Linked DNA regions of Homo sapiens: all the other regions are linked to region 1. Evidence: promoter capture Hi-C in human tissues and cell types (Jung and others, 2019). All regions are on one chromosome and are shown on one strand. Each heading gives the region's core, a stretch centred on a gene start or on the middle of the fragment in contact. The rest is flanking DNA. Distances are from core to core; before and after follow the strand shown.

Region 1 (3,805 bases), core at 589-3,088:
GAGCAAGACTCCGTCTCAAAAAAAAAAAATGTGCCACATGTCACAACATTGTTAAAAATCTGAATGCTGAATTCAAAATAGTTGCAAGTACATGTTGTATTATATGTAAAACAAGATCACAACAGCATCTACCTCCCTAAGGTTGGCAAGGATTAAATGACTTACTGTATGCTAGTGCATATTATTTAGATGTTTTGAGAAATAACTACCCCAGACCCAGCAAAATCTTATCAATCTGAAACTTAAATTAAGGATAATAAGATTATTTAAAAAATGGATTCTAAAAGCTGAAAATGCATTTAGATCTCAAAAACAGAGTAAGAATCAATTACATGCTTTTCTTCAAGGACTGCAAGTCCTTTCTGACACTGGAGAAGAACTTAACTCTTTCCCAAAGACAGCCAAAAGGAATATCAGGACACAGGCCTTGAAAGGGATAACATCCAAATGGGAAATGCCACCCACCACCTCTGAAGCCAGATTACTCCAGTCTATTTTTATCAACCAACCATTTATACGACTTTTTTTTTTTACTTTAAAAAATTCCATGAGGGGGCTAACAACTCCTAAGTGTTATGTGCTTTGCATATATTAAGGTATTTTAGCCTCATAACAATCCAAAATGGAAAGTGCTGGTATAACCCCACTTTATAGATAATAAAATGAGGCACAGGGTGCAGCTCCTAGAGTATGAGGCGCGCGGCAAGGGCTCCCAGCTCCAAGGGAAGTAGCTGCCTGCGGACAACGGGCGCAGTCATCCTGGTGAAGCCCAGACCAAGCCCAGACCTACAGCCTTGAGAAAAGCGGGGCTCACAGCTTGGGGCAAAAGTGGTCATTCCTCTCAAGATTCTCACACCTGTCCAAACGACCTAGTCAAAGCCAGTCCTTGGGGTCGGATCCCATTGGGGGAGCAGCTGGGGATAGGGAAAGGTCTCCAGAAGTTTGGCAGGCGTCCCGGGGTGAGGAGTAAGGGTCCCAGGTGTGAAGGGCCTGGGGGGAGGAGTCCTTGTATGGGGGAGGGGTCCTTGTATGAGAGGCGGGGCAGTGGTCCCTGGTTTGAGGGGCCGCGCGGGTGTCCCGGGGCTGAGGGTCGGGAGTCCGGAGGGGCAGCGCGGGGCTCCCAGGGTGAAGGGCGGGGTCCCCGGGGTGAGGGGCCGCGCGGGGTTCCGGGGGTGAGGGGCAGGAGGTCCCGGGGGTGAGGGGCGGGAGTTCCCGGGGGTAAGGGGCCGGGGTCTCGGGGCGAGGGGTCGTGCTGGGGTCCCACATGAGGGGCGGGGTCCTAGGGTTGAGGAACGGTGTCTCCGGGGCGAGGGGCGGGTTCCAGGGTAGAGGAACCGGGGTCCCGTTGAGGGGCAGAGGTCCCAGGGGCGAGGCCGCGTGGGGGTCCCGGGGGTGAAGGGCGGGGGTCCTGGAGTGAGGGGCCGCGCGGGGGTCCCGGAGTGAGGGGCTGCGCGGGGGACCGGGCTGAGGGCGGGTCGCGGGGGTTGAGGGCGGGGTCCGGCTCACCTTCCGACAGCTCCAGCTCCAGCTCAGCCAGGCTCTCCCGCACCTCGGCAGGCAGCGGCGCCGCCTCCAGCGGGCACCCGCGGTCAGCCATGGCCAGGCCGGCTAGCGTCCGGGCAGAGGCTGGAACCGGACCGGGCCTGGCGGCGGCAGCGCAAACCTCGGCTACGTAGCTCCCCTCAGGCCAACAACCTACATCCGCCAGGCGAGGAGCGGGAGGCGGCGGGACAGGGGCGCGGCCAGGACAGCAACGCACCCGCGCGGGCACGAGCGCGGATGGCTCCGCCGCGCCGCCGCTGCCCCGCGCGCTCCTGAGCGCCCGGCCGGCCCTACACGGGAGCGCGTGCGCGGCGGGAAGGGCGGGTAGCGAGCGCGCGTGCGCAGTGGGTCTCGGGCCCGCGCAGCCCTCCCGGCCCCGCCCAGCAACACCAGAGCCTCGCTTCCATTGGCCCCGAAGACGCGTCGATGCCGCTCCGGGCTCCCATTGGGAGAGGCGGGAGAGCGCCGCTCCCGACAGGCTCTGCGCTGGGCCTGCTTGAGGGTGGCGGGCTTGAGGCGGGCAGGCTGCTTAGTTGCGGCCCGAGGCGCCTAAGTGGGGATGACCAACCCGTGGGCGTTGGCGCTGACCCCTAGGCGCCGCTGGTGGCCCCGCGCGCGGCCCTCCGGCCAGCCCCGCCCCTCTCGGGGCTCCTCCTTGGTCCCCGCGCCATGGCGCGTCCGCGTTGACCGCTGTCTTCCCTTTCGGGCTGTGCTGATCGCGAACGCTGCGCAGTCCGTGGTGGCGTCGAGGCACCTTTCTCGTGCCTTTACCTGTGTTCACTCCTTTGCTTTAAAAAACAGCCCTAGAAGTACACATCGTTGGCCCCGAAGGAGCCCCAGCAGCCATGTCGGACCGCGAGGTGACCTTGGAGGGCGGGAGGACGGACGAGGGGCCTGGCGGAGCTAGACTGAGAGGGCGCCGCCGGCGTCCTGAAGGCCCTGCTCCCCGAATGTGTGGGAGTGTGTCTGACGGTGCGAGGGTGGCTGTGGCGGGGCCTGAGCAGCGTGTCCGTGTCCCGATGCCGCCCGCCTGTTACTGAGTTAGGCAGGAGTGCCCGAGTCTGGCGAACTTCAGCAGTTCTCGTTCCAGAGCTCCACACGAGGTTGGCCAAAGCTTTGCGGGACTTACATACCCTTCTTCCTCCGCCCAGTCCTGCTTCCTTCCCCTTCCTTTCACGGGTGTTGATACCATGTCAACATCCTCGTACCCCAAACTCAGTCGCAGCGTCTGCTTCTGGAGAAACCATTCTGCAGCATTAAAGCTGGTGAGAAGATGGGATTCGAGGCTGCATCACTCACCAGTGGTGAAGTAGGAGGGTGAACTAGTGAAATGGAATCCACGAGTGGGTGAAGTATCAGACATTTCATATATGGTGAACGTAGTAGATAAAAGGAAGGAAAGGGGGATTGGATAGCTATTGCTTAGTGCCAACCGAGACTCTTAAGAATAGTGGTCAGCTGAAGGCAAGCAACAAACAGTTGTAAGCCAGTGAATCTGTCCCGTTACATATAGAGAAGCTTCATTTACTGCAGCAGGTCAAAGACAAGAACCAGGCCCAGGAATTAACATCCCTGTTTGACTGAACTCCAAAAATAGCAAAACACCCAAACAAGGCAATACTCTTCCACTAAGTTTGGATCCCTGCTAAGAAAAGATGAGGCTGGGCACAGTGGCTCACACCTGTAATCCCAGCACTTTGGGAGGCCAAGGCGGGAAGATTGCTTGAGTTCAGGAGTTCAAGACCAGCTTGGGCAACATGACAAAACCCCATCTCTACTGAAAACACAAAAAATTAGCCGGGCATGGTGGCCACGGCTGTGGTCCCAGCTGCTTGGGAGGCTAAGGTGGGTGGATCACCTGAGCCCTGGAAGTCAGGGCTGTAGTGAGCTGTGACTGCACTCCAGCCTGGGCAACAGGAGTGAGACTCTGTCTTTTAAAAAAAAAAAAGAAAGAAAAGAAAAGCCCGTCATACATGGGTTGGAGATACCTGGGTAGATGCCTTCAAAGGTTTTGACTCCCCAAACTGCCTTAAACCTTTTTTTCGTAGACAGTGTCTCACTCTGTTGCCCAGGCTGGAGTGCAGTTGCTGGATCATGGCCCACTGTAGCCTCAACTTCCTGGGCTCAAACGATCCTCCCACCTGAGCCTCCTAAGTAACTGGGACTACAGGTATGTGTCACCACACCTGGATACATTTTTTATTACTTGTAGAGGCAAGGTCTTGCTATGTTGCCCGGGCTTGTCTCAAACTTCTAGGCTCCA
Region 2 (3,802 bases), core at 270-2,769, 260 kb after region 1:
CTCCTGCTCTCCTGCTCTCCTGCTCGCGGTTAGTCAGGTGGCTCGGGTAACAGCAGCGTTCTCTCCCTCGGGCCTTCGGTTGAACACAGATGCCGCGCTATCCAGCTGCCTGTTCTCAGCACCTGGGAGGATTTCAGTCTGGGTTATTATGAAGCATCTACTGTGAACACTCTTGTACTTATCTTTTGGGGGCACCTGGGTACCCATTTCTCATGGTCACGTACCTAGGAGTGGCATTGCTGTGTTAGAGGGTACGTTATAGGGTATGTGATTTTTGTAGGTTCTTCTTTATCCTATCACGATTACATTTTTTTACTTTTGTTCAACCTGGTGTAGACTCACCTTGGTCACAATGCACTGTCCTTTTTATATATTGCTAGATTCAATTTGAAGAATATTTTGTTAGGATTTTAGCAACTCTGGTTACAAGAGACGCTGGTCTATAATTTTTTTTTCTTTATAATGTTTTTGTCAGGTTTTCCTGTTAAGATGATGCTGGACTTAGAAAAGCAGTTGGAAAATGCTTTTAAAATACTCTTTGGAAGAATTTATGTAATATTCATAATATTTCTGCCTTAAATGTTTGGGAAAAATTACCGGAAATGCCAGTTGGGCCTGGAGATTTCTTTGAGGAAAGTTTTTAAATTAGAAGTTCAATTTCTTTCTTTCTTTCTTTCTTTCTTTTTTTTTTGAGATGGGTTCTAGCTCTCTCACTCAGGCTGGAGTGCGGTGTAATTTCTTTAATAGTTTATAGGACTGAGCAGATTTTCCATTTTTGTATCAGTCTGGGGAGTCTTCCCATTTCCACTCAGCTTTACACTGATTCATGCAAAGTTGTTCAGTGTCCTCTTAGATGGCTCTGAGCCCAACGCTGACATCCTCCTCTTCCTTCTGAGAATCTTATACTGATCTTTTGAAAAAAAAAAAATCTTAGTCTTTGATTCTGTTTTTAAAGAGACTTTATTTTTGGTTTCATCAATTTCTATTGTTTGTTATTTTCTTTCTTTCTTAATTTTTTTGAGATGGAGTCTTGCTCTGTTGCTGAGGTTGGGGAGCAGTGGCGTGATCTCAGTTCACTGCAACCTCCGTTTCCGGGGTTCAAGCGATTCTCCTGCCTCAGCCTCCCGAGTAGCTGGGACTACAGGTGCTGACCACCATGACTGGCCAATTTTTTGGTATTTTTATTAGAGACAGGGTTTTACCATGTTGTCCAAGCTGGTCTTGAACTCCTGACCTCAGGTGATCCACCTTCCTTGGCCTCCCAGAGTGCTGGGATTACAGGTGTGAGCCACCACACTGGCCTTTGCTATTTTCTTTCTCCTTTATTTTTCTAACTTGAATACTTAGATATTTGATTTTCAGGCTTTTATTGAAATATGAATTTGAGGCTATAAATGAGTTTTGAGATATCATTCAGTTAAATGTGTGTTCTGGTGCTTGCTGTGGTAGCACAGATACTAAAAGTGTTTTCTGTTTCTACTGTTCTTCTCTGGCCCATGAGTTATGTGGGAGTATGCTGCTTCATTTACAATCTGAGAATGTTCTGGTGTGGTTTTTTTGGAAGCCGTGGATGGAGCAGGGGTTTTCTTGTGCTTCACAGGTGCAGCTAGGAGGGCACTGTGTCCAGGGTCTTCTGTCGGCCTGGCGTGGCCCTCGGCCATGTGCTGCTCTGCGGCATGAGGTGGGCGTGAGTTGTCCTCAGCCACATTTAGAGAATTGGCCTTTTAAAAAATAGATCATCTTTTAAAAATCACTGTAATAAAAGTAAAGCAGGTTCTTTGCAAACAAGACTTGCAAAATACAGAGAAGCGCAAAGAAGAAGCTAAGTCGCCCCTCCTCGCCCCTGAAGGAGAATCTGCTGTTGCTGTTTGGTCTCCACATTTCCATGGCGGCTTGCTGCCCCTTTCACGCCTGGCCCACTTTGTGCCTGGTGAGGTTTCTAAAAGCCCCACCATTGAGCGCGCTCCTCCAGCACGAGCAGTAATGGCACAGGTGTTGTGTCATTTTACTCAGTAGCCTCTGGGTTATTTTTCAGTTTTCCTTGTTGTTTTTTAGCTTTTCCCCATTTTAACCTTAACTGGTATTTTCTTGTTAAATATTTATTCATGACCATTATTATTCCCTAGAGCCACATGGCTTGGGGTCCACCTGCCTGGGTCAGCCCCCATCCCTGCCCCTTCTGGCTGTCTGACCTGGCCTGGTGACTTCTCTTCTCTGCTCATCTCTCTCCCTGCCTGAGTGGGCAACAGTACAGCCTCACAGAGTGGTGGGATTGTGTGAGATGCCACAGGGAAGCACATGTCAGTTGTTGTCACTGTGTAGAACAATGAGTCCCGGATGTGGCCCGCAGGGGAGCAATGGTGACTTAATCGCGGGCTTCCTCTGCATTTCTTTGGTGACTTCCAAGCTAGAACATTCTTTTTTTGTTTATTTGTTTGAAGCAGGGTCTCACTCTGTTACCTAGGCTGGAGTGCAGTAGCAAAATCATGGCTCACCACAGTCTCAAACTTCCGGGCTCAAGCAATCCTCCCACCTCAGCCTCCTGAGTAGCTGGGACTACAGGTGCATACCATCACCTGTGGCTAATTTTTTAAATGTTTTGTATTTTTTAAATGTTGCTCAGGCTGGTCTTGAACTGCTGGGCTCAAGCAATCCTCCCACCTCGGCCTCCCCAAATGCTGGGATTACAGAGTGAGCCACCACACCCAGCCATTTTTAAAATTTTCACCAGGAAGTTTTTTCTTTCATTTTTAAGCACAGTAAGTATTTGTGTATTATGTTACAGATATTTTCCCCTCAATTTCTTTGTTCTTTTTATCTCTTTAGGGAGTATGAACATAAGTTTTTAACTTTTAAATGGTTAAATATATTAGTGTGATTTTTATATTAAGATTTTATTTTATTTATTTTTTTTTTTTTTGAGACGGAGTCTCGCTCTGTCGCCCAGGCTGGAGTGCAGTGGCGGGATCTCGGCTCACTGCAAGCTCCGCCTCCCGGGTTCACGCCATTCTCCTGCCTCAGCCTCCCAAGTAGCTGGGACTACAGGCGCCCGCCACTACGCCCGGCTAATTTTTTGTATTTTTAGTAGAGACGGGGTTTCACCGTTTTAGCCAGGATGGTCTCGATCTCCTGACCTCGTGATCCGCCCGCCTCGGCCTCCCAAAGTGCTGGGATTACAGGCGTGAGCCACCGCGCCCGGCCTATATTAAGATTTTAAACTTGCCGGGCGCAGTGGCTGACGCCTGTAATCCCAGCACTTTGGGAGGCCGAGGCGGGTGGATCACAAGGTCAGGAGATCGAGACCATCCTGGCTAACACGGTGAAACCTTGTCTACTAAAAATACAAAAATTAGCCGGGCGTGGTGGCGGGCGCTTGTAGTCCCAGCTACTCGGGAGGCTGAGGCAGGAGAATGGCGTGAACCCGGGAGGTGGAGCTTGCAGTGAGCCGAGATGGTGCCACTGCACTCCAGCCTAGGCGAGAGTGCAAGACACCGTCTCAAAAAAAAAAAAAAGATTTTAAACTTACCTGGAGAGTTTTTGAGATACAGTTTGGAGTTGCAAGTTACTTTAACACTATTTATATGGAATATTCTATTTTACTAGACAGACTTAAATTCTCCCTTAAATTCACAAATTTATAGAAAAGTTACAAAAATACTGAAAAGTGCTCCTGTTTACTCTGACTAGAATTCTTTAGTGGGTGGCACCCTACCCTGAGGGCTTCATGACCTGTCCTCCCACATGATCCAGGCTCTACCCTCAGGGCTTCATGACCTGTCCTCCCACATGATCCAGGCTCTAC
Region 3 (3,484 bases), core at 6-2,505, 130 kb before region 1:
GGGCAGTCCCTGCAAGTGTGGCTGAGTCCGGGGCCTTTTTTTTTTTTTGGATGGAGTCTCGCTCTGTCGCCCAGGCTGGAGTGCAGTGGTGCGATCTCAGCTCACTGCAAGCTCCGCCTCGCGGGTTCATGTTATTCTCCTGCCTCAGCCTCCCCAGCAGCTGGGACTACAGGCGCATGCTGCCACGCCTGGCTAATTTTTGTATTTTTAGTAGAGACGGGGTTTCACCGTGTTAGCCAGGATGGTCTCAATCTCCTGACCTTGTGATCTGCCCACCTCGGCCTCCCAAAGTGCTGGGATTACAGGCATGAGCCACCGCACCTGGCCAAGTCTGGGGCTTTTATGGGCTCAGAATGGGGGAGTGTGTGGTGATTGGTTTGTGAGTATGCAAAAAAGGCTAAAACAAAGGCACCACTCAAAGATGGAAACAACAATGTAAAAATGTAAAAAAAAACAATTAGGGAAGGGTAGGTATATGTAAAATAGGTGAAGGGTGGGGGTCAATCAGAGGAAAGCACATCAAATGGGAAGAGAGGTTCTCAATCCGGTCCATGGATTTATCTGAGATTTGGAGCTTGGCATTCAGGTTTTTTTTTCCTTTTCTGTAGCAATTTTTAAATTTTATTTTATTTGCATAGGTTATTGGGAAACAGGTGGTGTTTGGTTACACTAATAAGTTCTTTGGTGGTGATTTGCGAGATTTTGGTGTACCCATCACCCGAGCAATATACACTGCACCCTATTTATAGTATTTTATCCCTCACTCCCTTCCCACCCTTTCCCCAAGTCCTTGTATTAGTCCATTTTCACACTTCTGATAAAGACATACCTGAGACTGGGCAACATACAAAGGAAAGAGGTTTAATGGAGAATTCACAGTTCCACGTGGCTGGGGAAGCCTCACAATCATGGCAGAAGGCAAGAAGGAGCAAGTCACATCTTATGTGGATGGCAGCAGGCAACGACAGAGTGAGAGCTTGTGCAGGAAAACTCTCCCTTATACTAACCATCAGATTTTGTGAGACTTACTATTATGAGAACAACACAGGAAAGACCTGCCCCCATGATGCAGTTACTGCCCACCAAGTCCCTCCCACAACACATGGGAATACAAGATGAGATTTGGGTGGGGACACAGGCAGACCATATCATTCCACCCCTGGCCCCTCCCAAATCTCATGTCCTCACATTTCAAAACCAATCATGCCTTCCCAACAGTCCCCCAAAGTCTTACTTCAGCATTAACTCAAAAGCCCACAGTCCAAAGTCTCATCTGAGACAAGGCAAGTCCCTTCTGCCTATAAGCCTGCAAAATCAAAAGCAAGTTAGTTACTTCGTAGATAGAGTAGGGCTACAGGCATTGGATAAATACAGCCATTCTAAATAGGAGACATTGGCCAAAATGCTGGGGCTACAGACCCCATGCAAATCTGAAATCCAGTGGGGCAGTCAAATCTTAAAGCTCCAAAATGATCTCCTTTGACTCCATGTCTCACATCCAGATCACACTGAGGCAAGAGGTGGATTCCCATGGTCTTGGGCAGCTCAGCCCCTGTGGCTTTGCAGGGTACAGCCTCCCTCCTGGCTGCTTTCATGGGATGGCATTGAGTGTCGGCAGCTTTTCCAGGCCCACAGTGCAAGCTGTCTGTGGATCTACCATTCTGGAGTCTGGAGGATTGTGACCCTCTTCTCACTGCTCCACTAGGCAGTGCCCCAGGAGGAACTCTGTGTGGGGGCTCCAACCCCACATTTCCCTTCTGCACTGCCCCAGCAGAGATTCTCCGTGAGGGCCCCACCCCTGCAGCAGACTTTTGCTTGGGCATCCAGGCATTTCCATACATCTTCTGGAATCTAGGTGGAGGTTTCCAAACTTTAATTCTTGACTTCTGTGCACCTACAGGCTCAACACCACGTGGAAGCTGCCAAGGCTTGGGGCCGCCACCCTTGGGTAACAGCCCAAGCTGCACCTTGGCTCCTTCCAGTCACAGCTGGAGTGGCTGGGATGCAGAGAACCAAGCCCCTAGACTGCACACAACACAGGGACCCTGGGCCTGGCCCATGAAACTGTTTTCTCCCAGGCTTCCAGGACTGTGATAGGAGGGGCTGCTGTGAAGACCTCTAACATGCCCTGGAGACATTTTCCCCACTGTCTAGAGGATTAATATTCAGCTCCTTGTTATTTATGCAAATTTATGCAGCCGGCTTCAATTTCTCCTCAGAAAGTGGGTTTTTCTTTTCTACCACATTGTCAGGCTGCAAATTTTTTGAACTTTTATGCTCTGTTTCCCTTATCAAACTGAGTGCCGTTAACAGCACCCAAGTCACATCTTGAATGCTTTGCTGCTTAGAAATTTCTTCTGCAAGATACCCTGAATCATCTCTCTCAAGCTCCAAGTTCCAGATATCTCTACAACAGGGGAAAAATGCCACCAGTCTCTTTGCTAAAACGTAAGAGTCACCTTTGTTCCAGTTCCCAACAAGTTCCTCATCTCCATCTGAGACCACCTCAGCCTGGACCTTATTGTTCATATCGCTATCAGGCTTTTGGTCAAAGCCATTCAACAAATCTCCAGGAAGTTCCAAACTTTCCCACAATTTTCTGTCTCTTCTGAGCCCTCCAAACTGTTCCAACCTCAGCCTGTTACTCAGTTCCAAAGTTGCTTCCACATTTTTGGGTATCTTTTAAGTTGCACCCCACTCTACTGAATACCAATCTACTGTATTAGTCAATTTTTACATTGCTGATAAAGACATACCCAAGACTGGGCAAAGGAAAGACTGGGCAAAGGAAAGGCTTTACAAAGGGAAGAGGTTTAATGGAGAACTCAGTTTTACATGGCTGGGGAAGCTTCACAATCATGGTGGAAGGCAAGGAAGAGCAAGTCACATCTTATGTGGATGGCAGCAGGCAAACAGAGAATGAAAGCTTGTGCAGGAAAACTTCCCCCATATAATAACCATCAAATCTCATGAGATATACTATCATGAGAACAGTACAGGAAAGACCTGCCCCGTGATTCAGTTACCTCCTGCTGGGTCCTTCCCACAACATATGGGAATTCAAGATGAGATTTGGGTGGGGACACAGCCAAATTCTATCAGTCTCCAAAGTCCATTATATTATTCTTATGCCTTTGCGTCCTCATAGCTTAGCTCCCAATTATGAGTGAGAACATGCAATGTTTGGCTTTCCATACCTGGGTTACTTCACTTAGAATAATAGTCTACAATCTCATCCAGGTTGCTGCGAATGCCATTAATTCACTCCTTTTTTGTGGCTATACAGTATTCATATATATATACATCACGATTTCTTTATCCACTCGTTGTTTGATGGGCATTTGGGTTGCTTCAACATTTTTTTCAGTTGCGAATTGTGCTGCTATAAACATGCATGTGCAAGTATCTTTTTCATAAAATCACTTCTTTTCCTCTGGGTAGATATCCAGTAGTGGGATTGCTGGATCAATTGCTGGTAGTTCTA
Region 4 (3,667 bases), core at 1-2,500, 200 kb after region 1:
GGGAAACCTGCTCCCAGGAGTTGAAGTAAGTGAAACGCTGGTGTCTTGCTGTGCCAGGAGAGTGAGCTTTGGCTCTGCCCTAGGCTGTGTCTTGCACCACTGAGGATGGGCTATTGGAAATGGATCTTGCCTGTCTAAGCTACTTTGATTTTGTGACCAAATGTATTTGATGCAGTCCTCTGTGCTCCCTTGGCTAATAGAATTTTATTATAAAAAATTCTCTTTTATATGAGGGCTGCCACCACATGATCATAGTCAGCCATCCTTATTAGCCACTGGCATTTATCATATATTTGAGACACTTCCAATTGATTGCACAAGTCAGATGTTGCTGATGAGAAGATTTTGTGGTTGTCTGCATGGTAATTTACAAATTCTACGCCAGGCACCTGTAGTCCCAGCAACTCAAGAGACTGAGGTGCAAAGATCACTTAAGCTCAGAAGTTCCAGGTAGTGTGCTATGACTGCACCTGTGGTGGCCACTGTACTCCAGCCTGGGCAACATAGTGAGACCCTGTCTCTAAAATAATTAAAAATTCTGACTATTTTATTAAGATAAAGGTTTATTTCTTAACTGTTACGAGGGCCCCTATGGACCTATAATTTGGCACCCTGTTCCACTTAATTCTTTTTACCCTGTCTTTCTAGGTGTCTGTAGTTTAAGTATTAAAGCTTCTTTTACAATGAAGATAGAATTACATTTTAATACTGAGGATGCAGACTCTTGCACTTTTTTTTTTTAAAGACGGAGTCTTGCTCTGTCGCCCACACTGGAGTGCAGTGGCGTGATCTGGGTTCACTGCAACCTCTGCCTCCTGGGTTCAAGCGATTCTCCTAGCTCAGCCTCCCAAGTAGCTGGAATTACAGGCATGCACCGCCATGCCCAGCTAATTTTTTTTTTTTTTTTTTTTTTGAAATGGAGTTTTACTCTGTTACCCAAGCTGGAGTGCAGTGGTGCCATCTCGGCTCACTGCAAGCTCCGCCTCCCGGGTTCACGCCATTCTCAGCCTCCTGAGTAGCTGGGACTACAGGAGCCTGCCAATATGCCTGGCTAATTTTTCATATTTTTAGTAGAGACGGGGTTTCACCGTGTTAGCCAGGATAGTCTCGATCTCCTGACCTCGTGATCCGCCTGCCCTGGCCTCCCAAAGTGCTGGGATTACAGGCATGAGCCACCGTGCCTGGCCGCCAGCTAATTTTTTGTATTTTTAGTAGAGACGGGGTTCTACCATGATGGCCAAGCTGGTTTCGAACTCCTGACCTGAAGTGATTTGCCTGCTTTGGCCTCGCAAAGAGCTAGGATTACAGGTGTAAGCCACTGTGCCTGGCCGACTCTTGCACTTTTCTTTTTTTTTTTTTTTTGAGACGGAGTCTCGCTCTGTCGTCCAGGCTGGAGTGCAGTGGCGCGATCTCTGCTCACTGCAAGCTCTGCCTCCCGGCTTCACGTCATTCTCCTGCTTCAGCCTCCCGAGTAGCTGGGACTACAGGCGCCCGCCACCACACCAGGCTAATTTTTTTGTATTTTTAGTAGAGACAGGGTTTCACCATGTTAGCCAGGATGGTCTGGATCTCTTGACCTCATGATCCACCCGCTTCGGCCTTCCAAAGTGCTGGGATTACAGGCGTGAGCCACCGCGCCTGACTGACTCTTGCACTTTTCAAGCAAGCCCTCAGTGTCTGTGGGCCCCAAGTGCAGTGTCTTCCATGCTGATTGCCCTGTTTCTAGGAATGCAGTAGAGACAGACCAGAGGGTCCGTGTGGCCCGTTGCTGTGAGGATGTCTGTGCCCACTTAGTGGACTTGTTTCTCGTGGAGGAAATCTTCCAGACTGCAAAGGAGACCCTCCAGGAGCTTCAGTGCTTCTGCAAGTATCTACAGCGGTGAGTCCTGTGTTCCTACAGGCAAAATCCACACACACGGGGAAGAGTCTTTTAACAAATTCAAAATATATGAGCTATTAGTTTCTGTATTCAGTGGTAAAAGGATGAGGGAAAATGTTATAGCAATGAATACCTAAAATAGACTAATTGGATTATACTGCATTTCAGAAATACTTGATTACACACACACACACACACACATACAATATAAGGGGAAAAGTCAGGAGTTAGATTGGGACGTGGTGGCTACTCTGTATGTCAACTGATATTTATAGGGTGCCTGCCATTTGCCCACTGCACTAGGTGCTGGGAGACAGCTATGAACAAGCCAGATTATGGCTGCATGCACCAATAAGGGTGAATTCTCAAAATATAAGTAGTGGAGAAAAAGCAATTAATAGGGAATATACAAATAGTGTATATTCAAACTAAATAGGTTGTTTCAGATTTATATATAGTGGTATAACCCTAAAGAAAAGAAGGAAAATAATGATCATAATCTCAGCATAGTGGTTACTTTTGGGAATGGGAGGTGGTGCCTCTCATGGCCACAACTTCTCAACTGGGTGTAAGTGCACAGGTGCTTGATGATTTATTAATCTTATAACTGGGCATATATGTGTTACGTATGTTGTATGATTCATTTCATAATAAAATTTAAAATCAGTAATAGTGTCCTTGGTAGTTGGAACAGTATAAAAGGGAGTATGGGGAGAAGTGAGTCTTCCTTCTACAACAGACCCCTGTCCATTGTGCGAGCAGCAGCTGCTTGCGAAACCATCCAGAGACTTTCTGTCCTTTCTTGTGGCTCTTGGCACAGATGGGCTCATGATCCCTGCTTTGCTCTGAGCCTTCCTTTGCTCCATCTGATATGAGGTGGAGGCTTGGCTGTAGCAGCATGCTGAGCTGTCCCCGTTGCCAGTGGTCTTGAGGTCAGTGCGATAATGTACCATAAATGACCTTCCTGGTCTTCTGTTGATGGACTTTCATGTGGCTCTTTTTTTTTTTTTTTTTGAGATGGAGTCTCACTCTGTCGCCCAGGCTGGAGTGCAGTGGCGCAATCACAGCTCACTGCAACCTCCACCTCCCAGGTTCAAGTGATTCTTCTGCCTCAGCCTCCTGAGTAGCTGGGACTACAGGCGTGCGCCACCATGCTCGGCTAATTTTGTTTTTTTTATTTTTAGTAGAGATGGGGTTTCACCATATTGGCCAGGCTGCTCTCGAACTCCTGACCTCGTGATCCGCCCGCCTCGGCCTCCCAAAGTGCTGGGATTACAGGCGTGAGCCACCGAGCCTGGACGTAGCTCTTTTTAGCTCTGGTAAAGACTGTTGCAGTGACTGTTGTTGTACAGACAGACATCTCACCCGTTTGCACACAGGCACGTGTGTGGAGATAAATTCCTATCAGTGGTGGCTGTGGGTCAAGGGATATATGTATCTTTTTTTTTTTTTTTTTTTTTTTTTGAGACGGAGCCTTGCTGGTACACACAGCCTGGAGTGCAGTGGTGTGATCTCGGCTCACTGCAACCTCCACCTCCTGGGTTCAAGGGATTCTCCTGCCTCAGCCTCCCAAGTAGCTGGGACCACAGTCGCCCACCACCATGCCCGGCTAATTTTTTGTATTTTAGTAGAGATTGGGTTTCACTGTGTTGCGCAGGCTGGTCTTGAACTCTTGAGCTCAGGCAGTCCGCCCGCCTTGGCCTCCCAAAGTGCTGGGATTACAGGCGTGAGCCACTGCACCCAGCTGGGTATATGTATCTTAAATCTGTATCCATATTGCCAAGTCAG
Region 5 (3,469 bases), core at 713-3,212, 220 kb after region 1:
TTCCCACTGCCCCCATTCCCTTGACCTCTGCTGCCAGACTCTCATTCAGTACGTCGAAGACGGGATTGGCCATGAGTTTAGTGGCCGCTTTTTCCATGACAGAAGAGAGAGGCGTCTGGGCGGTCTTGCTTCTCAGGAGCCTGGCGCCATCATTGAGCTGTTTAACAGTGTGCTGCAGTTCCTGGCTTCTGTGGTGTCCTCTGAACAGCTGTGTGACCTGTCCTGGCCTGTCACTGAGTTTGCTGAGGCAGGGGGCAGCCGGCTGCTTCCTCACCTGCACTGGAATGCCCCAGAGCACCTGGCCTGGCTGAAGCAGGCTGTGCTCGGGTTCCAGCTTCCGCAGATGGACCTTCCACCCCTGGGGGGTACGTGCTTGACCTGGGGAGGTCTGGTGGGTGGCTGCAGCCAAGTCTCAGGCTTCCTTCTCACTGTAGTAACCGTCTGGCAGGTGTTGGGCACCAGTGTGAGGGCTGCACGTCCACCTCCGTGTGTCTCCATGCTGTGCTCGCCTGCACCTTCCTTTGGTCCTTTGGGTTCATGAGCCAGAACAAGCTGGGTTTTGTGGAGTGGGGGCTGTTAGCCTTTCCTGACCAGCAAGGCAGTCCATGGGAGTTCACTCAGCTTCAGGAGAAAAGTGACAAGTGGTACTGGGAGGAACACCAACCCTGATCCTGTCCTGCCTGCCCACAGGGTCCCTGTTTTCAGAACAGACAAGGGGCAAAGAGCATGGGGACCATGTAGCCCTGTCCCCAAGCCGCAGCCATGGCACTCAGTGCTGATTTAACATTCTTTCTTTGTCAAAGAGGCCTTCTTCTATGGCTCTGGCTGTGCCCCTGTTCCTGGCTGAGGTCTTTGGGCTGTTTTGACACAGATCCGACAGGCCATCTGGCTGGCTCAAGCCCAGTATGGCATGGGGCTGCTCCTTCCTATGCACTCAGAAGGGAATGAGCTGCTTATCTGGCAGAAGTTGTGGCATTAGCACAGACACTCCCCTTTGGGCCTCAGGCGCCCTTCTAAATTGTGGTGTGTGGTCTGTAGTAGGTCTAACTCATGCTCATTATTGAAGGAACCCAAAGGGAAGCAAACCACTCAGCACAAGCCCTCGGTGCTCTGGTTAGGTTGGGGTTCCCCAAAATAAGCTAAGACTGCTTATACCAGACTCATCTGGGTGCTTGTTAAAATACAGATTTCCTAGGCACAACCACAGGCCTGTACAGTCAGAACTTCTGGGTAGAACTTGGCTAGCAACACTGTTAAGGGGGACTGTCTGCATCCCTCACCTAGACCCTGGGAGCAAGCTGCTCTTCCCCCTCAACAACTGTGGTTCTGCTGTGTTTAGAAAGCAGACTTCTCAACTTCACAGTTGCCTTCTCCTGAGAAAATGTTTTCATGTACATTTTCACCTGTATTTTGGCCAAACCTGTAACTAATGAGGCACTTTCTCCCCAGCCCCCTGGCTCCCCGTGTGCTCCATGGTTGTCCAGTACGCCTCCCAGATCCCCAGCTCACGCCAGACACAGCCTGTCCTCCAGTCCCAGGTGGAGAACCTGCTCCACAGAACCTACTGTAGGTGGAAGAGCAAGAGTCCCTCCCCAGTCCATGGGGCAGGCCCCTCGGTCATGGAGATCCCATGGGATGATCTTATCGCCTTGTGTATCAACCACAAGCTGAGAGACTGGACGCCCCCCCGGCTTCCTGTTACATCAGGTAATTAGAGCTTGATGCAATGGGATCAGCTCCTCACGAGACTTTCCTGGTCCAGTTTCTGCAAAGGAAGATGTTTAGTTGATGTTGCTGCTTTTCTTTTGGGTCTCTATCCTTCCTTTCCTTAGGACTTCCCTCTTCAAGTGAGTGACTTAAAAACATTGAGACAGGCTAGGAAGTTTCTGGTAGAGCCTGAACTCACCTCCCTGAAACAGGCCCCCTAGGATGGCTCTTAGAGAGGATTTTGTGGCTTTTGAGTAGTCATTACTGGCCCTGCCAGTCTCGATGTAAGCTTGTCTGGACTTTGAGTGATGCATGGACCCTGGGAGCCTATTTAACCCAAGTGTGGAAGTCACATAATTGTGTGACTTTAATCAAAGGTCTTGCACTTAAATCAGTGAATTTAAGCACATGCCACCTGTCGCTGTTTAAATATTATTTGTACCTGTTTTTGTTTTTTTGTGTGTGTTTTTTTTTTTTTTGAGACAGGGTTGGCCAGGCTGGCCTCTTTATCTGTTTTTGTATTGTTTTCTCAGAGGCGCTGAGTGAAGATGGTCAGATATGTGTGTATTTTTTTAAAAACGATTTGAAAAAATATGATGTTCCTTTGTCGTGGGAACAAGCCAGGTTGCAGACGCAGAAGGAGCTACAGCTGAGAGAGGGACGGTGAGGTTCATGTTCAGTATGTTTCTGTTGCTTGCTAAACTGTATTTTTCTTGCAAAGTAAATAGAAATTAACATCCTACATGCCAAATCCAGTCCACTGTGGGCAGACTGTGACAAATCCTCAAGGAACAGATCATTCCCATGCAGTAGAAACTATTCTAGAACAAAGTTAAAGCATCTCACTTCATTTATCAGGCATACCTGACCCTGAAATCATACCTAACCAGGAGAGTACAGCTGACATTTCATCTCACTTCCAAATTTGGTTCCAAAGCACAGTACCTAAAAAAGTTCACAAGTATGCTTTCTCCCAGGATAAACAATAACAGTGAAAATCTATTAATGTAATTTGTTGCCATAATAGAAAAATAAGTGGTAATTTTAGCAGGCGTTGAAATACGTTTCTTAAAATTTATACCTGTTCCTGATAAAATTTCTTTATTTTGGGTACTTTCTTTAGCTTGGGTTAAAAAAAAAAAAAGTCCTAACTTGATAAGGCTACCTAACATAAAACTACCAAAATAGAAAAAAAACATGCTTCTTGGTAGAATGTTAGGAACAGTGGAATCAGAACCAGCCTGTTGTCCCGACTATTATTCACTATTGTCCTGGAAATCCTGACCAGTACAGGGATGTGGGATAGACAGGCACAAATACTGAAAGGAAGGAGAAACTGTCATTTCCAGACAGTACAGTTGTCAGTCCAAGAAAAGTCAAGTCCATAGAACCATTCTCAGTTCAATAAGGTGATCAGATAGATAGATCCACAACATGTTAAAAAAAAAAAAATTCTCATTCACAACAATAAACCTGAACAGAAAGGGCACAGGATGGTGGAACTTTGCTGTTCCTTCTTGTTCCCCATAGAGATCCTTGAAGTACCTTCTCCAACTCCATGATACTCTAAAAACTGTTCATCTTCATAATAGGAGTGGAGCCTAATCCTTGGTCTCCTCACCTCCTGGTTTCCCGGAATGTCTTTCTCATTAACATATGAGTTCTCAGGGCCTGTATGTGCAAAGGAAACCTGAACCATTGAGGTTCAGACTAGGTTGTTGACAGGATACAATGCTGTGAAGATGTCAGTACTGGTAAGTTC
Region 6 (3,691 bases), core at 207-2,706, 170 kb after region 1:
CGGGAGGAATTTAATCTAGAGTTTAACTTGTGTGGCTGACTCCACTGAGTCCCGGGCACGGGTCAGGCTAACCGCGGGAGGAATTTAATCTAGAGTTTAACTTGCGTGGCTGTCCCCACTGAGTCCCGGGCACAGGTCAGGCTAACCGCGGGAGGAATTTAATCTAGAGTTTAACTTGTGTGGCTGTCCCCACTGAGTCCCGGGCACGGGTCAGGCTAACCGCGGGAGGAATTTAATCTAGAGTCTAACTTGTGTGGCTGTCCCCACTGAGTCCCGGGCACGGGTCAGGCTAACCGCGGGAGGAATTTAATCTAGAGTTTAACTTGCGTGGCTGACTCCACTGAGTCCCGGGCACGGGTCAGGCTAACCGCGGGAGGAATTTAATCTAGAGTTTAACTTGTGTGGCTGACTCCACTGAGTCCCGGGCACGGGTCAGGCTAACCGCGGGAGGAATTTAATCTAGAGTCTAACTTGCGTGGCTGTCCCCACTGAGTCCCGGGCACGGGTCAGGCTAACCGCGGGAGGAATTTAATCTAGAGTTTAACTTGCGTGGCTGTCCCCACTGAGTCCCGGGCACGGGTCAGGCTAACCGCGGGAGGAATTTAATCTAGAGTTTAACTTGCGTGGCTGTCCCCACTCAGTCCCGGGCACAGGCCAAGCTAACCACGGGAGGAATTTAATCTAGAGTTTAACTTTAAATCAAGAATAGTAATCATCCCTCCCTAAAACGAATCCCCTCCTTGCTCAAGACCGAAGCCACCTCTGTGAAGCTTGTGAAGGGCCACAAGATTAGGATGATGGGAGGGGCCTGAATTCTGCTCAGATGTAGGTGTCCTGAGGAGAACCAGCCCGCAGGCCTTGCTTCCCCAGCTTGCCCTGCTGTAATTCCCTACTGCTCAGGACTCACGCAGCCAGAGGTCACGAGATTTGTGACCGCCCCAATTGCTCCCCAATAAGATAACGTCAATAGTACAACCTAAGAATGGTCTTTTGGGATGTTTTTCAGACTTTTGAGTTCTGGCAACCTACAGACTCCACCTGGACCTGAGACTCATGACTCAGCTGATCCCGTGGCTCCACGCAGAGGCGGACTCAGGGGACAAAAATCGTTGACACCCCATGGTCCGTCTGCAGCCGATCAGCAGCAGGCATTCCCTAGCCCCTGCCTGCCAAATTGCCTGTAGAAACTGTAGCCTCTGAGTTCTCTGGGAGATTGAGTTGAATAATAACTCCAGCCTTTCTGCTTGGCTAGCTCTGTGTTAAACTCTTTCTCTACTGCAATACCACAATTGCAGTGAATTGGTTTTGTCTGTGCAGTGGGCAGGAAGAACCCATAGGTGGATTACACTGAGGAGAAACAGATCTGGAAGGTGGTGGAGGCTCCAACTTCTGTACTTCTGGCAGCTCAGAAAGAAGCTGATTCAGCAGGTCTGTGTTAGCTCAACATAGTCTGCTCTACTCCAGAGATAAAAGCTGAGAAGGCTTCTCTGGGAGCTTCTGTGTTTTCACAGCGTGTTCTCTCCCTCCTTCAACTGTGGCATGGGGCATGCAGTCCCTACCCAGCCTGGGTGCTCCTCACACCCTGCTTACAGGTTCTTCCCCCAGTAGCCCTTACGGTACCCACGGACACACATGGATGCAGGGTTGTGATCTTGACCCCTTTGCAAGGCCCATGTTCCATGAGCCAGGTTATATGATTTCAGCATCCCCGCTTACAGTCAGGACGTCATTGTAATCTTCATTTTCTTTACACTGATGGAAGATATACTCCACTCCTAGGAAAATGTCTCCCAAATTGTAGTCATCTGGAAAATCAGGCTGGGGAAATTCACCTGCTTTCAGATGCTAAAAAATGAGGAAATGTAGACTTAGAGAACAGGAAACGTAACCCAACCACAGGTTGACAGGTTTCATCCTGGTTAATCCCAAGGCAAATAAGCACTTATCTCTGAGCCAAATCACTTTTTTTTTTTTTTTTTTTGAGACGGAGTTTCACTCTTGTTGCCCAGGCTGCAGTGGAATGGCGCGATCTCGGCTCACTGCAACCTCTGCCTCCCGGGTTCAAGTGATTCTCCTGTCTCAGCCTCCTGAGTAGCTGGGATTACAGGTGCATGCCACCGTGCCCAGCTAATTTTTGTATTTCTTTTTTTTTTTTTTTTCCTGAGACAGAGTTTCCCTCTTGTTGCCCAGGCTGGAGTGTCCGCCTCCTGGGTTCAAGCAATTCTCCTGCCTCAGCCTCCCGAGTAGCTGGGACTACAGGCATGCGCCACCACGCCCGGCTAATTTTGTATTTTTAGTAGAGACTGGGTTTCTCCGTGTTGGTCAGGCTGGTCTCAAACTCCCAACCTCAGGTGATCCACCCGCCTTGGCCTCCGAAAGTGCTGGGATTACAGGCGTGAGCCACCGCGTCTGGCCTAATTTTTGTATTTTTTAGTAGAGATGGGGTTTCATCATATGGGTCAGGCTGGTCTCGAACTCCTGACCTCAGGTGATCTGCCTGCCTCAGCCTCCCAGAGTGCTGGGATTACAGGCGTGAGCCACTGTGCCAGCCACCCAAATCACTCTTAAGATGCATGTCTCAGGCCAGAGTGGCAGCTGGGCCTGTGGCGGGTGGGTTGCCCAGCCAACCGTACACAAGTGCCCTAAATTGTTTCCATTGTGAAAATTGTCAGAATAGCCAGGCGTGGTGGCTCACAGCTGTAATCCCAGCACTTTGGGAGGCCGAGGCGGGCAGATCAAGAGGTCAGGGGTTTGACACCAGCCTGACCAACATGGTGAAACCCCATCTCTACTAAAAATACAAAAATTAGCCAGGTGTGATGGCACATGCCTGTAACCCCAGCTACTCGGGAGGCTGAGGCAGGAGAATCGCTTGAACCTGGGAGGCGGAGGTTGCAGTGAGCCCCTAGACTGCGCCATTGCACTTCAGCCTGGCTGACAGAGCAAGACTCCGTCTCAAAAAAAAAAAGGAATTTGTCAGAATAAAAATGGAGCCATTAGGGTTATACAAACAAACCAAAAAACCTGACAAATAGAGCTGGGGAAAGCTATGAAGAGAGGATTCTCATACTTCCATGCCTGATAACAAAAACTGTCACTAAAGATGGCAAAAACTGCAACAAAGGCTATGACAACCTTACACACATACAAAACTGCAACCTTGCACAAAGGCTATGACAACCTTACACACACACACGAAACTGCAACCTTGCACAAAGGCTATGACAACCTTACACACACACAAAACTGCAACCTTGCACAAAGGCTATGACAACCTTACACGCACACAGAAACTTCTGCAAGGATAATCTGCCCAGCAACTGCCTGTCTAACCTTGGACGGACATTAATCTTGTTATTGATCTTTGCAACCAAGGATCATTATCTCAAAACAATTATGTTTTTTTCCTTTAAAAACCTTTGCCAGGCGGGGCTCAGTGGCTCACGCCTGTAATCCCAGCACTTTGGAAGGCAGAGGCGGGTAGATCACCTGAGGTCAGGAGTTCTAGACCAGCTTGGCCAACATGGTGAAACCCCAACTTTACTAAAAATACAAAAAAAAAAAAATTAGCCAGATGTGGTGGTGGGCGCCTGTAATCCCAGCTACTCGGGAGGCTGAAGCAGGAGAATCGCTTGGACCTGAGAGGTGGAGGTTGCAGTGAGCCGAGATTGTGCCATTGCACTCCAGCCTG

The links. The method cuts DNA at HindIII sites, captures the fragments that hold promoters and counts their contacts. A contact is called where the count stands out against the background at its distance.
Region 2: a fragment that was not itself captured here is called in contact with the fragment with the promoter of DIP2A in region 1 in 2 of the 25 tissues and cell types used here (dorsolateral prefrontal cortex and mesenchymal stem cells).
Region 3: a contact is called between a fragment that was not itself captured here and the fragment with the promoter of DIP2A in region 1, in 4 of the 25 tissues and cell types used here (H1 embryonic stem cells, dorsolateral prefrontal cortex, lymphoblastoid cells and 1 more).
Region 4: a contact is called between a fragment that was not itself captured here and the fragment with the promoter of DIP2A in region 1, in 1 of the 25 tissues and cell types used here (lymphoblastoid cells).
Region 5: a contact is called between a fragment that was not itself captured here and the fragment with the promoter of DIP2A in region 1, in 4 of the 25 tissues and cell types used here (IMR-90 fibroblasts, dorsolateral prefrontal cortex, lymphoblastoid cells and 1 more).
Region 6: a fragment that was not itself captured here is called in contact with the fragment with the promoter of DIP2A in region 1 in 3 of the 25 tissues and cell types used here (dorsolateral prefrontal cortex, lymphoblastoid cells and mesenchymal stem cells).

The regions. Positions count from the first base shown.
Region 1 is chr21:46,456,924-46,460,728 of GRCh38, reverse strand. DIP2A (disco interacting protein 2 homolog A) reads right to left here and starts at 1,838. Exons shown (of 38, transcript NM_015151.4): 1 at 1,507-1,838. The coding sequence starts at 1,597. LOC124905046 (a long non-coding RNA gene) reads left to right here and starts at 2,016. Exons shown (of 2, transcript XR_007067915.1): 1 at 2,016-2,402. RefSeq lists enhancers at 645-714, 2,485-2,624 and silencers at 1,435-1,504, 1,695-2,244. The HindIII fragment of the contact is 5,308 bases long and covers 1-2,858 here.
Region 2 is chr21:46,201,512-46,205,313 of GRCh38, reverse strand. All of the region lies in intron 17 of LSS (lanosterol synthase), which reads left to right. Among named protein-coding and RNA genes, the nearest start is that of SNORD159, 9.3 kb to the right of the region's middle. RefSeq lists an enhancer at 3,461-3,802. The HindIII fragment of the contact is 6,573 bases long and covers 1-3,802 here.
Region 3 is chr21:46,590,854-46,594,337 of GRCh38, reverse strand. No RefSeq gene overlaps it. Among named protein-coding and RNA genes, the nearest start is that of S100B, 12 kb to the left of the region's middle. The HindIII fragment of the contact is 3,264 bases long and covers 1-2,887 here.
Region 4 is chr21:46,257,151-46,260,817 of GRCh38, reverse strand. MCM3AP (minichromosome maintenance complex component 3 associated protein) reads left to right here. Exons shown (of 28, transcript NM_003906.5): 15 at 1-25; 16 at 1,727-1,879. Among named protein-coding and RNA genes, the nearest start is that of MCM3AP, 27 kb to the left of the region's middle. The HindIII fragment of the contact is 8,306 bases long and covers 1-3,667 here.
Region 5 is chr21:46,241,703-46,245,171 of GRCh38, reverse strand. MCM3AP (minichromosome maintenance complex component 3 associated protein) reads left to right here. Exons shown (of 28, transcript NM_003906.5): 23 at 1-365; 24 at 1,450-1,707; 25 at 2,241-2,370. All of the region lies in intron 3 of MCM3AP-AS1 (MCM3AP antisense RNA 1), which reads right to left. Among named protein-coding and RNA genes, the nearest start is that of MCM3AP-AS1, 14 kb to the right of the region's middle. The HindIII fragment of the contact is 7,439 bases long and covers 1-3,469 here.
Region 6 is chr21:46,289,488-46,293,178 of GRCh38, reverse strand. YBEY (ybeY metalloendoribonuclease) reads right to left here. Exons shown (of 5, transcript NM_001314025.2): 3 at 1,717-1,845. Among named protein-coding and RNA genes, the nearest start is that of YBEY, 5.0 kb to the right of the region's middle. RefSeq lists enhancers at 2,786-3,367, 3,368-3,691. The HindIII fragment of the contact is 7,396 bases long and covers 1-3,691 here.